Linked DNA regions of Homo sapiens: region 1 is linked to region 2. Evidence: promoter capture Hi-C in 16 types of primary human blood cells and fetal thymus (Javierre and others, 2016). All regions are on one chromosome and are shown on one strand. Each heading gives the region's core, a stretch centred on a gene start or on the middle of the fragment in contact. The rest is flanking DNA. Distances are from core to core; before and after follow the strand shown. Region 1 holds the start of POLR3A (RNA polymerase III subunit A). Region 2 holds the start of BCCIP (BRCA2 and CDKN1A interacting protein).

Region 1 (6,419 bases), core at 1,248-3,747, about 48 Mb before region 2:
ACAAAGAGCTCACAGGTCAGGGTGGGAAAGACAGACCACAAACAAACGAATATACAAATGTGAACAGATGCAGAAGTGATGTAAGCAGTGGAGTCTGAGGAATTACTTTACGTTGCATGGTCAGAAAGCCTCACTGTAAAACTGACAATCAGAAGGAAGAGCATCTGAAGTGGAGAGAATGACTAGGGCCAGGGTCCTGGGACTGGCACAAGCTTGGCATTTTCAAGGAACCAAATGAAATCAGTATATACTGGAGCATAGAAAGCTAATAGTACAAGATAAAGTCAGTGAAGCATGCAGGAGCTAAAGCATGAGGGCTTGGGAACTTTGGTAGGGAATTTATTTAAATAACATAAATGCAGCCGGGTGCGGTGGCTCATGCCTGTAATCCCAGCACTTTGGGAGGCCAAGGTGGGTGGATCACGAGGCAAGGAGATTGAGACCATCCTGGCTAACATGGTGAAACCCTGTCTCTACTAAAAATACAAAAAATTTGCTAGGCGTGATGGCCCACACAATGGAAAGCTGCTAGAGGATTTTTTTTTTTCCCTGAGACAGAGTCTTGCTCTGTCACCCAGGCTGGAGTGCAGTGGTGCGATCTCAGCTCACTGCAACCTCTGCCTCCTGGGTTCAAGCGATTCTCCTGCCTCAGACTCCCAAGTAGCTGGGGTTACAGGCATACAGGCATGCGCCACCGCACCCAGCTAATTTTTGTATTTTTAGTAGAGATGAGGTTTTACCATATTGGCCAGTCTGGTCTTGAACTTCTGACCTCATGATCTGCCTGCCATGGCCTCCCAAAGTGCTGGGATTACAGACGTGAGCCACCACTCCTGGCCTCTGCTAGAGGATTTTAATTGACAATACCCTTAATTTGCACTTTGACAGAAGCACTTTCTCTGTTTTGTGAGAATGTATTATATCTGACTGGGCGCAGGTGTACAGGTGGGTGTGAAGGGCCAGTGTCGATGTAGAGCTACCACATGGGAGAATGCTGCATTCACCTAGGTAAGACACCTGTTCTAGTGAATGGCAACCATCCACACAGCTGCCCAAGCAAGGCATTCTGTATATCCGTCTCAAGGTCTCTCGACCTCTAATTCTTTCCACCATGAATCAAGAGATTTTCCAGAAGGAGAACTCTTATCAAGATACTCTCCTGTTGAAAATCCTTCAAAGGTTCCTCACTGCCTACAAGATGACTTCTTAACACAGCTTCAAGTCTTCTGCTTCCTTCTGATCACCTGTGTTCTCTCCCTCAGGTCTGCTCCTTGAAAAAAGCAGTTTGGTCTGCTTTCTTTTGCCTGGACCCATTATGTGCTCTCAAAACCCCCTGGACCTACCCTTGTCATTGCACTTGTCGTACCCAGTGTTGACTTGTGTACCTTCTCCAACTAGATTAGGCAGTAAAAGTTTTATTCAGACCGTATCTTTAACGTCCAACACTGGGAATAACGCGCAGTATCCTCCTCAGTGTCTGCTGTAAGAATGATGAATTCACTTTTTTTTTTGAGACACCGTCTCACTCTGTCACTCAGGGTGGAATGCAGGAGGTTGCCCACTGCAACCTCTGCCTCCCAGGCTCAAGTGATTTTTCGGCCTCAGCCTCCCGAGTAGCTGGGACCACAAGGGCGCGCCACCACGCCTGCTAATTTTTGTATTTTTGATAGAGACGGGGTTTCGCCACGTTGCCCAGGCTAGTCTCAAACTCCTGAGCTCAGGAGATTCACCCGCTTCGGCCTCCTAAAGTGCTGGGATTACAGGAGTAAGCCACCGCGCCCGGCTGGATTCACTTTCTTACCGAGAACTCTAAGAAGGAGCCACCGCCTAATAACGTATTTCTGAAGGCAAAAGTCCGGATAGCAGCTTTATTTCTGACACTGCCATCCGTCGGCCTGTGGTACAGCTTTCTAGTGGGCAACCCCATCCTTTTGGTAAGCAACTACTGCCTCCGTGTCAGACGCTCTGCGGCTGACAGAATTAGAGACAGTCCCCGCCCCAGATTGCTCCCCTCGCTGCAGCAGGGGATAGTTCGCTGAAGAACAGGGATCATTGTATGACTTCAGGAGAATGCGAGCTTTGGCCCAGGGTGCACAAATCATTAAGGCTCAGGCCACTCCGACTTCTCCGCCCAAGTCCAGGGACCTCTCGAGGTGCTGAAATCCCCTCAGCCTGACCAATGCTCTTTGACCAACGCTGGTAGTTCTGGGCGCTGGTCACACCTATGGACTACTGGCCCTCCCCTTCCCATTGCACCCCATCTCTGACCCTGCAAGACCCGGGACCGCTGACCTCGGACCCCTTGCCCTATTTCTCAGCCCTTTGGCCACTCTTACTCCGTCTTACATTTTCTTGGCCACATCCGTCTCCCGGAACTGCTCCTTCACCATGATGACCGCTGCCGGGACGCCTCCTTGGCACTCGGGAGGCCAGATTAGAGAAACGATGCCCCCAGCACCTCCTGGGGCTGCTTCTGGACTCGCCGCTAACACATCTGCGGCATCCTCTCGGCCACCGTAGAGTGTCCCACGTGTCCGCTTCCTCTTCCGCTACTCGCCCGCGCGTCTGTCTGTCAAGAGAGACTTCCGGCATGCCTTTTTTTTTTTTTTTTTTCCCTTTCCCCGCACCGTCACCTGGTGGCGCTTACTGGAAGCCGCACCGAGGCGTGTGCTGTATTTTAAAAATCCCATTTCTGGTCAATTTCTCCACGTAATCAGACACCCGCAGAGAAACTGCATATAACTCTTTGCCTCAAGGCTTTTAGACAAGCAGAGGGCCAAAACTTGCATAAAATGGAAAATCATCATCATTAACATCAGTACCATCTAAATTAAGAGCTTCTAATTGTTTTAAGGGAAGGTGGAAGCTAAAATGAACCGGCCCATCCAACAGAGGGCACTATCTGTGGAGGACCAACAAAGGAAAACAGAGCGGAAAATATGGGCGCACATGTGCCTCCAGTTCATGAAGTTATTTGGAGGGAGGGGGGAAGAATTAAACTTACATTATTGATTACAAAAACAGTTGAAAATCTGTTAGAGTGAAAACAGCCATGGTAATCTACAGAAGAAAAGGGAGAATGGAAAGTAAAGATCATTCATGTCTTGAAATAAGTTGTCTACAGTCTGTGAGAACTTGTGGGAGGTGATCCTAGTGTGATATATTAGTGCATGAGCCTAGCAAGGAAATCACATCACCACAGGGCTTAGCGCTTAGAATTAGAACTAAGTCCTCATTATTTGTGAGAAACTCAAAACAGAACTTAACAAAAGTGTTTAACAACTTTCAATTTTTAAGAAGGGACGCTATCTCATTTTCAGACGCCATGGATCCTCACTAGCAAAACACAATGTCACAGACAAACGAGGCATATCAGGTTTTTCTAACTCATTTCGGTACTCCATCACTTAATCATGAAATAATGTTGACTATATATATATATATATATATATATATATAGTCAACATTATGGGTTTTTTTTGTTTTTTTTTTTTTTTTTTTTTTGAGACGGAGTCTCGCTCTGTCGCCTAGACTGGAGTGCAGTGGCGAAATCTCGGCTCACCGCAACCTCCGCCTCCCGGGTTCAAGCGATTCTCCTGGCTCAGCCTCCCGAGTAGCTGGGACTACAAGCGCCCGCCACCACGCCCAGCTAATTTTTGTATTTTTAGTAGAGACGGGGTTTTACTATGTTGGCCAGGCTGGTCTCGAATCCCTGACCTCGTGATCCGCCCGCCTCAGTCTCCCAAAGTGATAGGATTACAGGTGTGAGCCACCACACCCGGCTCTGATGTTTACAATATTATACCAACAAGGGTTGGATCGTGTGTGACTTATCTAGAGGTTAAGAGCAAAAGTTATGAAATCACAGTGCCATCATGGGAGTCTAGCTTTCACCATTTAAAGTTGTGTAGGCAGCCAGGCGTGGTGGCTCACGCCTGTAATCCTAGCACTTTGGGAGGCCAAGGTGGGCGGATCACCTGAGGTCAGGAGTTCGGGACCAGCCTGGTCAACATGGTGAAACCCCATCTCTACTAAAAATACAAAAATTAGCTGGGGTTGGTGGTGTGCGCCTGTAATCCCAGGTACTCGGGAGGCTGAGGCAGGAGAATCGCTTGAAGCTGGGAGGTGGAGGTTGCAGTGAGCCGAGACCATGCCATTGCACTGCAGCCTGGGCGACAAGAGTGAAACTCCATCTCAAAAATAAAAAAAAATAAAAAATAAAGTTGTGCAGGCCGGGCGCGGTGGCTCACGCCTGTAATCTCAGCACTTTGGGAGGCCGAGGTGGGCAGATCATGAGGTCAGGAATTTGAGACCAGCCTGACCAATATGGTGAAACTCCGTCTCTACTAAAAAATACAAAAATTAGCCTGGTGTGGTGGCGCATTCCTGTAATTCCAGCAACTCAGGAGGCTAAGGCAGGAGAATCGCTTAAATCCGGGAGGCGGAGGTTGCAGTGAGCCAAGATTGTGCCACTGCACTCCAGCCTGGGCAACAGAGCAAGACTCTGCCTCAAAAAAAAAAAAAAAAAAAATATATATATATATATATATAGATATAGATATAGATATATGTGTATATATACACATACGTGTATATATACACGTATATAAAGTGTGAACTTGGGAAAGTTATTTAATCTTATTGTGTGTTAGTTTCCCCATTTATAACATGGGTGAGTAATATGTATCCTATTTCTTAGAGTCAATGGGAAGGTTAAATAGCAAAATGAAGGTAAAAGTAATTAGAATGTAACAGGCACATTACAATCACTCAATAAATATTCTTCTGCCTCAGCCTCCCGAGTAGCTGGGACTACAGGTGCGCACCACCATGCCTGGCTAATTTTTGTATTTTTAGTAGAGACGGGGTTTCACCATATTGGCTAGGCTGGTCTTGAACTCCTGACCTCGTGATCTGCCTGCCTCGGCCTTCCAGAGTGCTGGGATTACAGGCATGAGCCACCGTGCCCAGCCGGCTGACTATTTTCTTAAGAATAAGGATAGTTGGTCACCTCGGGAGGCTGAGGCAGAAGAATCGCTTGAACTTGGGAGGCGGATGTTGCAGTGACCCGAGATCCCGCCACTGCACTCCAGCCTGGGTGACAGAGCGAGATGCGGTCTCAAAAAAAAAAAAAAAAACAAAAAACGAAAAAAAAGAAAAATAGTCGGCCGGGGACGGTGGCTCACGCCTATAATCCCAGCACTTTGAGAGGCCGAGGCGGGGGCGGATCACTTGCGGTCAGGAGTTGGAGACCAGCCTGGCCAACATGGTGAAACCCCGTCTCTCCTAAAAATACAAAAATTAGCTGGGCATTGTGGCGCAGGCCTGTAATTTTAGTTACTCTGGAAGCTGAGCCAGGAGAATCGCTTGAATCCGGGAGGTCGAGGTTGCAGTGAGCCGCGATGAAGCCATTGCTCTCCAACCTGGGTGACAAGAGCTAGACTCTGTCTCAGGAAAAAAAAAAAAAGAAAATAGGAAAGCTGCCCGCAAAGCCTGCACCTTGGACACCTCGTCTGCACTAACATTTGGGAAATTCTTCTTATTATTTCTCCGGAACATATATATTTACATTCTTTACATGTCTGTTTCACGTTAAAGAAAATATTTCTGGAGCAATCAATTTTTTTTTCCTTTTTTTTTTTTTTTTTCTGAGACGGAGTTTCGCTCTTATTGCCCAGGCGGAGTGCAATGGTGCGATCTCGGCCCACTGCAACCTCCGCCTCCCGGGTTCAAGCGATTCTCCTGTCTCAGCCTCCCAGATAGCTGGGATTAGAGGCATGCACCACCACGCCCGGCCAATTTTTTTTTTTTTGTAGTAGAGACGGGGTTTCGCCATTTTGCCCAGGCTGGTATCGAACTTCTGACCTCAGGTCATCTACCTGCTTCGGCCTCCCAAAGTGTTGGGATTATAGGCGTGAGCCACTGCCCCTGGCTTCCAATTTTTTTTTCCTTTTTTTTCTTTTCTTTTTTTTTTTTTTCTGAGACGGATTTTCGCTCCTGTTGCCCAGGCTGGAGTGCAATGGTGTGATCTCGGCCCACTGCAACCTTTGCTTCCCGGGTTCTGGCGATTCTCCTGCCTCAGCCTCCCGAGTAGCTGGGATTACAGGCATGAGCCACCACGCCCCGCTAATTTTGTATTTTGTATTTATTTATTTATTTATTTTCGTAGATACGTGGTTTCGCCATGTTGGCCAGGCTGGTATCGAACTCCTGACCTCAGGTGATCCGCCCGCCTTGCCCTCCCAAAGTGCTGGGATTACAGGCGTGGCCATCGCGCCCGGCCAAATATTTTTCAAAATCTAATTTTGCATAATGACCAAGATTTGCAGAAAAATACAAATTAAAGAGATCTTTTAAAGTAAAGATTCGTCATAAAAGTCACAGAAATAATACTCATGAATAATAAATTAGAATGGGCA
Region 2 (5,812 bases), core at 2,605-5,104:
GAGGCTTGAGACTGGTGAGGCTAGGGCCTAAAAACCGTGCAGTGTCTGGGGTTTCCTCTGCCTTTTTTTCCAATGAAAATAACGAAACCTGTTATTTCCCATTGAGGGGGAAAAAGGCGGGAGAAGCCCCAGCAGAAATGAAGCTGCTCCTGAAGCTTCCAACATGAAACTCACCTCGGCACTGGTAAAAAGAGGGCTCAACCTGTCTCTAGATTTACAGTCTAATGCTTGCTCTGCCATTTTACCCTCATACTTATGTTCATCAATCATTGATGAAAAAGAAAAGAAAAAAAAAATGACTGGAATAAGGGCACCTTACTGGTAAGAAAGAACCAAACCTCAAACCCGTACCTTCTATGTCATGGTGTTCTGGGTATCAGCAATAACAACAGTCACCCTTTTACTGAGCATTTACTCATGTTAATTACTGGGTGTATTAGAGTTCTTCAGAGAAACAGAACCAATGGCATATATTTACATCTAGAAAGGGATTTGTTATAAGGTATTAGCTCATGCAGTTATGGAGGCTGAGAAGTCCCATGATCTGCTGTCTGCAAGCTGGAGACTTGTTAGCAGGAAGGCTGGTGTTGTAGCCTGAAGGCCTGAGAGCCAAGGGTGTAGGTTCCAGCCTGAGTGTGAAGGCCTCAGCACCAGGAGCACCAAGGGCAGAAGATATCCCAGATCAAGCATGCAGGAGGAGACAGGACACATTCTTCCTTCTTTGGCTTTTTGTTCTATTTAGGCCCTCAACAGACTGGATGCTGCCCACCTACTTTGGGGAGGGCAATCCACTTTACTCAGTCTATCCATTCAAATGCTCATCTTTTCTGAAAACAACTTCACAGACACACCAAGAAATAATGTTTAACCAGATATCTGGGCATCCGTGATCCAGTCAAGATGACATGTAAAAGTAACTATCACACTGGGCTAAGCATTTTACATGCAAGACTGCAATCCTCACTTAAACCTGCAAGGTAGGTGGTGTTAGCCTTATTTGCAGGAGGTGAAACCAAGTCCCTGGGAGGTTTGAGTAACTTGTCCCAGGTCACACAGCACAGTAAGTGGGAGAGATGGAATTTGGATCCTGGTCTGAAGCCCATGCTCAGTCTCCTAACCACTTGCTACCATCCCTCTGCCTCATTAAGATAAATTCTGAGCTAAAGATGAACACTGAACGAGTGGTAAGCAATCTACTACCTGCTGAGTTCAGTTCCCTAGGGTCAGTACTGTATTTACTTTCACATTCACTATTCTAATTCACACTTTGACCATGAGCTCAACACTGGGAACTAATCTGAGGGCATAAAGTAAGGCTTTTTCCCCTACTTGTCTTACAAAAGTGATCCTGTTTACTGTGAAAGATTTGCAAACTACAAAAAAGTATAGTTCCTCAAAAAAATAAACATAGAATTACCATATGATCTAGCAATTCCCCTGCTACATATATACCCCAAAGAATTGAAAGCAGGGACTCGAACAGATATTTGATACTCATGTTCATAGCAACATTATTTACAACAGCTAAAATGTAGAAGTAACCAAAATGTTTACCGACAGATAAGTAGATAAACAAAATGTGGTCTATACATGCAATGGAGTATTATTCAGCCTTAACAAGGAAGGAAATCCTAATGCATGCTACAGCATGGGATAAACTTTGAAGACATCATGCTGAATGAAATAGTCACAAAAGGAAGAATATTGTGTTACTCCACTTACATGAGGTTTCTAGAATAGTCAAATTAATAAAGATGGAAAGTAGAAAGGTCATGGAGGGAAAATAAGGGAGTTGTTTAACTACAGTTTCAATTTTGCTAGATGAAAAGAGTTCTGCCAATGGATAGTGGTGGTGATGGTTGCACAATGTGAATGCACTTCATGCCACTGAACTGTATCTTTAAAAATAGTTAAGATGGTAAAATGTATGTTATGTATCTTTTACCACCATAAAAAAAGTATAAAGAAACAGGAAAAAAAATTGGCTATGGTATCTCAGTGCAACTCTGTTGATATGTTCACATGGTCTTTCTGAGTCTTTTTTCTAATCTTAGCCTTTTGATGGGTCTTTTTTGACAGCTTCCTCTCTTCTCCATTACAGGAACATGTTTTTGCAGTTGTGCGACCCAAAGAGGCCATTTCAAGCTGCCCCATCAGATGTGGAGCGCTGATGTGTAAGTATTACTTTAATATCCATGACATGGCTGGGTAGACAAGAGACTCCCAGGAAAGACCGAAATCACAGAACACGATTATGGGCAATCTGGGCTCCTGGGGACCTTTAGGGCACGCCATCTCGTACTGATGAAGGATCACTGATTTATCAGATGTTACCCTGCTTAAACAGAAGCAGCCTATTAGCGCAGCTCACACCATTCCTAGAATCAAACATATCCAACCCACCCCCCTCATTTTACAGAGAAAAATCAATTGAGAACCGCAGATCTTATTCCTAGAAAGCTGATGAACCCTGTTTCTCTCGCAATGGGAAGACCTGGCTGCCCCAGGCTGCATCCCCACCTGCCACAGGGGCTGGCGCTCGCTCTGCAGTTGGCCGCAGTCCCCTCCACTCTTCTCTCCAAATAGGCTCGGGTCTTTAACCTAGACTACCCCACTGGCCCCGAAGCATTTTTTTTTTTTTTTAGATAGGGTCTACCTCTGTCGCCCAGGCTGGAGTGTGGAGTGCGGTGGCGCGATCTCGGCTCACTGCAACCTCCGTCTCCTGGGGGCATGCGATTCTCCTGCCTTAGCCTCCTGAGTAGCTGGGACTACAGGCGCGCACCACCACACCTGGCTAGTTTTTGTATTTTTAGTAGAGATGGGATTTCGCCATGTTGGGCAGGCTGGTCTCGAACTCCTGACCTCAAGTGATCCACCCATCTCGGCCTCCCAAAGTGCTGGGATTACAGGTGTCCGCCACCACGCCCGGCTAATTTTTGTACTTTTAGCAGAGATGAGGTTTTGCCATGTTGGCCAGGCTGGTCTCGAACTCCTGACCTCTGGTGATCCACCCGCTTTGACCTCCCTAAGTGCTGGGATTACAGGCGCGAGACACCGGGCCCGGCCCCCCGCCGAAGCATTTTTAACTGCGGTGCCGGCTTTAAAAAAACTTTTAGGTCAAGAAATGCGCTCCAGAAGCTCGGCGAGGGTAGGCTGGGCAGGCGCCTTCCGTCACCGGCGCAGCGGTAGCGGCAGCGGACATCCCCGCCTGGGCAGGCCCAGGTCCGCGGAAGCCTCGGGGCCCTGGCCCCACTGTGTCACACACCGCCCGGGGCCGGGCCCCTGCACGCCCGCGGGCTTCGGCGTCCGTACCGGTACAGCGGGCGGCGACACCTACCTCGCGGGACCGTGCCCAGCACCCGGCCTGGCACACAGCGGGCACCCGGTCGGGGGGCGGTGTCGCGCAGTCCCAGCGAAAAGGCTGCAGGAGCAATGACAACAGGGGCGGAAGCCCCCTCCCCACGCAGCCCGAGGGGCCGCGGCGGCCACCCGCGCCGGGCCCCAGGACCCCGCACCTCAGACTGGGGTCGCGTGGGTGGCTGCGCGCAGCTAGGCGCTCGCGCATGCGCACCGCCATCCAGGCCACGGAATGAGGCCAGAGGTTAGATGGGTTGAACCACTACGGGAAGGGGAGGGGAAGCTTTGGGAGGAGTGATGGAGGGTGGAAAGCGGAAGAAAAAAGCAAGATGGGACCGCAAGCTGGACGTGACTGTAAGGGGTCATGGCTGCGGAATCCAGCAGGGGCATTGGGGTTGACGTGCACTCAGCGCCGAGCTTCTTCGTAGTTCCTCACCCCCTTGGCTACTATGGGCTGGTCCGGAAGGTCAGGCAAGGGGAAGCTGCGCAGGCGCAGTGTGAGCGGCAACATGGCGTCCAGGTCTAAGCGGCGTGCCGTGGAAAGTGGGGTTCCGCAGCCGCCGGATCCCCCAGTCCAGCGCGACGAGGAAGAGGAAAAAGAAGTCGAAAATGAGGATGAAGACGATGATGACAGTGACAAGGAAAAGGATGAAGAGGACGAGGTCATTGACGAGGTGAGAAGGACACGCTCCCCTAGTTGGTTTATACCTGAGAAAAACTTTTTGGCAAGCCCAGGCTGTGTAAAAATAGTGTAGGGTCTTCCCTGACCCTGAGGGTCTGTGAGGAGAAACTGGAGATAAGTTCTTTCTCAGGTTTCTCCTCGGTCTTTAACACACTGCAGCCATAGTAGTTATTTTTTAAAGGTCTAGTCCGGTCCAGTTAATCTCCCAACCCGCGTCCTCCCCGAAAAAGCCCGCCACAACAGGTGTGTTCTTCTCGTCCTCTTTAGTTCTCAGGCTGAAGCCTCAGATCCTGAATCGGCCACCCCGGGCTCGCAGAGGGGGCCCTCTCCCCTCGGGGCAGCAGCTGTCCTCCTCTTCACTCTGCGGGCGGCACTCACTTGGGCCCTCAGTTTCTTGAAGGCTCTTGCCGCGTTCTACCGTAGAAGCCTTTTCAAATGCTCTTCTTTATCCTGCAGTTTTCCCTTCCTTCTTCAGATCTCAGCTAGGCTGTATTTTCTGGCTCCTGGGGCAGCTGACCAAGTCGTGGGTAAATCTTTGGTTTCATAGTCTCATAGAACTGTGTTCCTTTCTTCAGACTAGGTCCTACCGTAGTGCCTGGCAATATAGGTACTTATTATTTGTTTAGTAAACAATTAGGACTGAATGATCCTTCAGCCTACTGAATGTTTAAATAGATACCTCAGCCTTAACTTGTCCAAAGCAGAATTTGTATAATAATTCATGCCCCTCTCTTAATCGTCACCATTTCTATAAATGGCCCCTAAAGTCACCAGCTGCTCTAACCCAAAACCTGGGGCTTAACTTTAATTCCTCCCTTTCCTCATCCTATATCCAGCCCATCAGTAAATCCTGTTATCCAGACATTTCTCAGCACTAATTCTGAGACCATCGTAGTCCACACCTCTATCATCTCTTGCCTGGACTACTATTTAATGTAACAGCTTTTAACCGGCGTTCTTTTCTCCATTTTTGTTCCCCTACAATCAGTCTATACTCCACTTACAGTCAGAGAGATCTTATAGGTCTGATCTCAGGCCTCTGCTTAGATTGCTGCATTGGCTTTCTAGTTCATTTACAAGAAAATCAAGAGTCTTCACAATTGAGGGACGGAAAGGCAGCCTAGATGGCTGGATCAGAATAAGGAAGAGAGAGTGATAGGAAATAAAATCAGAGAGGTAATCATGAGTCATGATGAGCATGGAGGGGAGCATGGAGAGAAGCATGGATGCAGGATTAGAGGTGACACCATGGTGTGGGTATGTGATCAATCTTCCTTCCCTTACAAATTTTACTTTGGCTCTATGCCTTGAATGCCATCTCACCATTTTTCACTTAGAACTTTGACTGGCTCTTTTATTACTTTTGGGTTATAGAAATCAATGCTGCTTGTGTTAACATGGGAAATCTATCACACCACCACAGTCTTAATTCTAAATCACCTGGGAATGAGGGACAGGGCTCTTTTCTACAAACGTGACTGTTCCTGCTGAAGCCATGTGGAGATGAGCCCATACCCAGGAAAAGGGTGCTGGACAGATAATCCATTTGCCGCCCATTTCCCTGGTGGTGCCATAATAGTCTGGGACAGAGGTCCGAGATGTCTGTCTAGACAAAGAAAAAAACACTAGATGAGCATTATTTACAGAATGTATTTATATCTAAGGAATAAGTTTAAGTCCTGAATAATGACAGTTTGTTATTTGGTTTAGTTTGATCCTGTTTGGAACACTCCCACCCGACCCCTTGTGTTTTGCTGCTCACATAATCTGGCT

The links. Contacts are between HindIII fragments. The CHiCAGO score rates a contact against its expected background, and 5 or more counts as called.
Region 1: a contact is called between the fragment with the promoter of POLR3A here and the fragment with the promoter of BCCIP in region 2, in 1 of 17 cell types (naive CD8 T cells). The highest score is 7.6, in naive CD8 T cells.

The regions. Positions count from the first base shown.
Region 1 is chr10:78,027,018-78,033,436 of GRCh38, forward strand. It overlaps POLR3A (RNA polymerase III subunit A), which reads right to left and starts at 2,498. Exons shown (of 31, transcript NM_007055.4): 1 at 2,347-2,498. The coding sequence starts at 2,390. RefSeq lists an enhancer at 2,418-2,667. The HindIII fragment of the contact is 13,008 bases long and covers 211-6,419 here.
Region 2 is chr10:125,819,692-125,825,503 of GRCh38, forward strand. BCCIP (BRCA2 and CDKN1A interacting protein) reads left to right here and starts at 3,855. Exons shown (of 7, transcript NM_078468.3): 1 at 3,855-4,031. The coding sequence starts at 3,867. UROS (uroporphyrinogen III synthase) reads right to left here and starts at 3,567. Exons shown (of 10, transcript NM_000375.3): 1 at 3,338-3,567. It overlaps MIR4484 (microRNA 4484), which reads left to right and starts at 49; the gene lies at 49-131. RefSeq lists silencers at 3,214-3,643, 4,400-4,619 and enhancers at 3,495-4,180, 3,724-3,923. The HindIII fragment of the contact is 3,281 bases long and covers 3,639-5,812 here.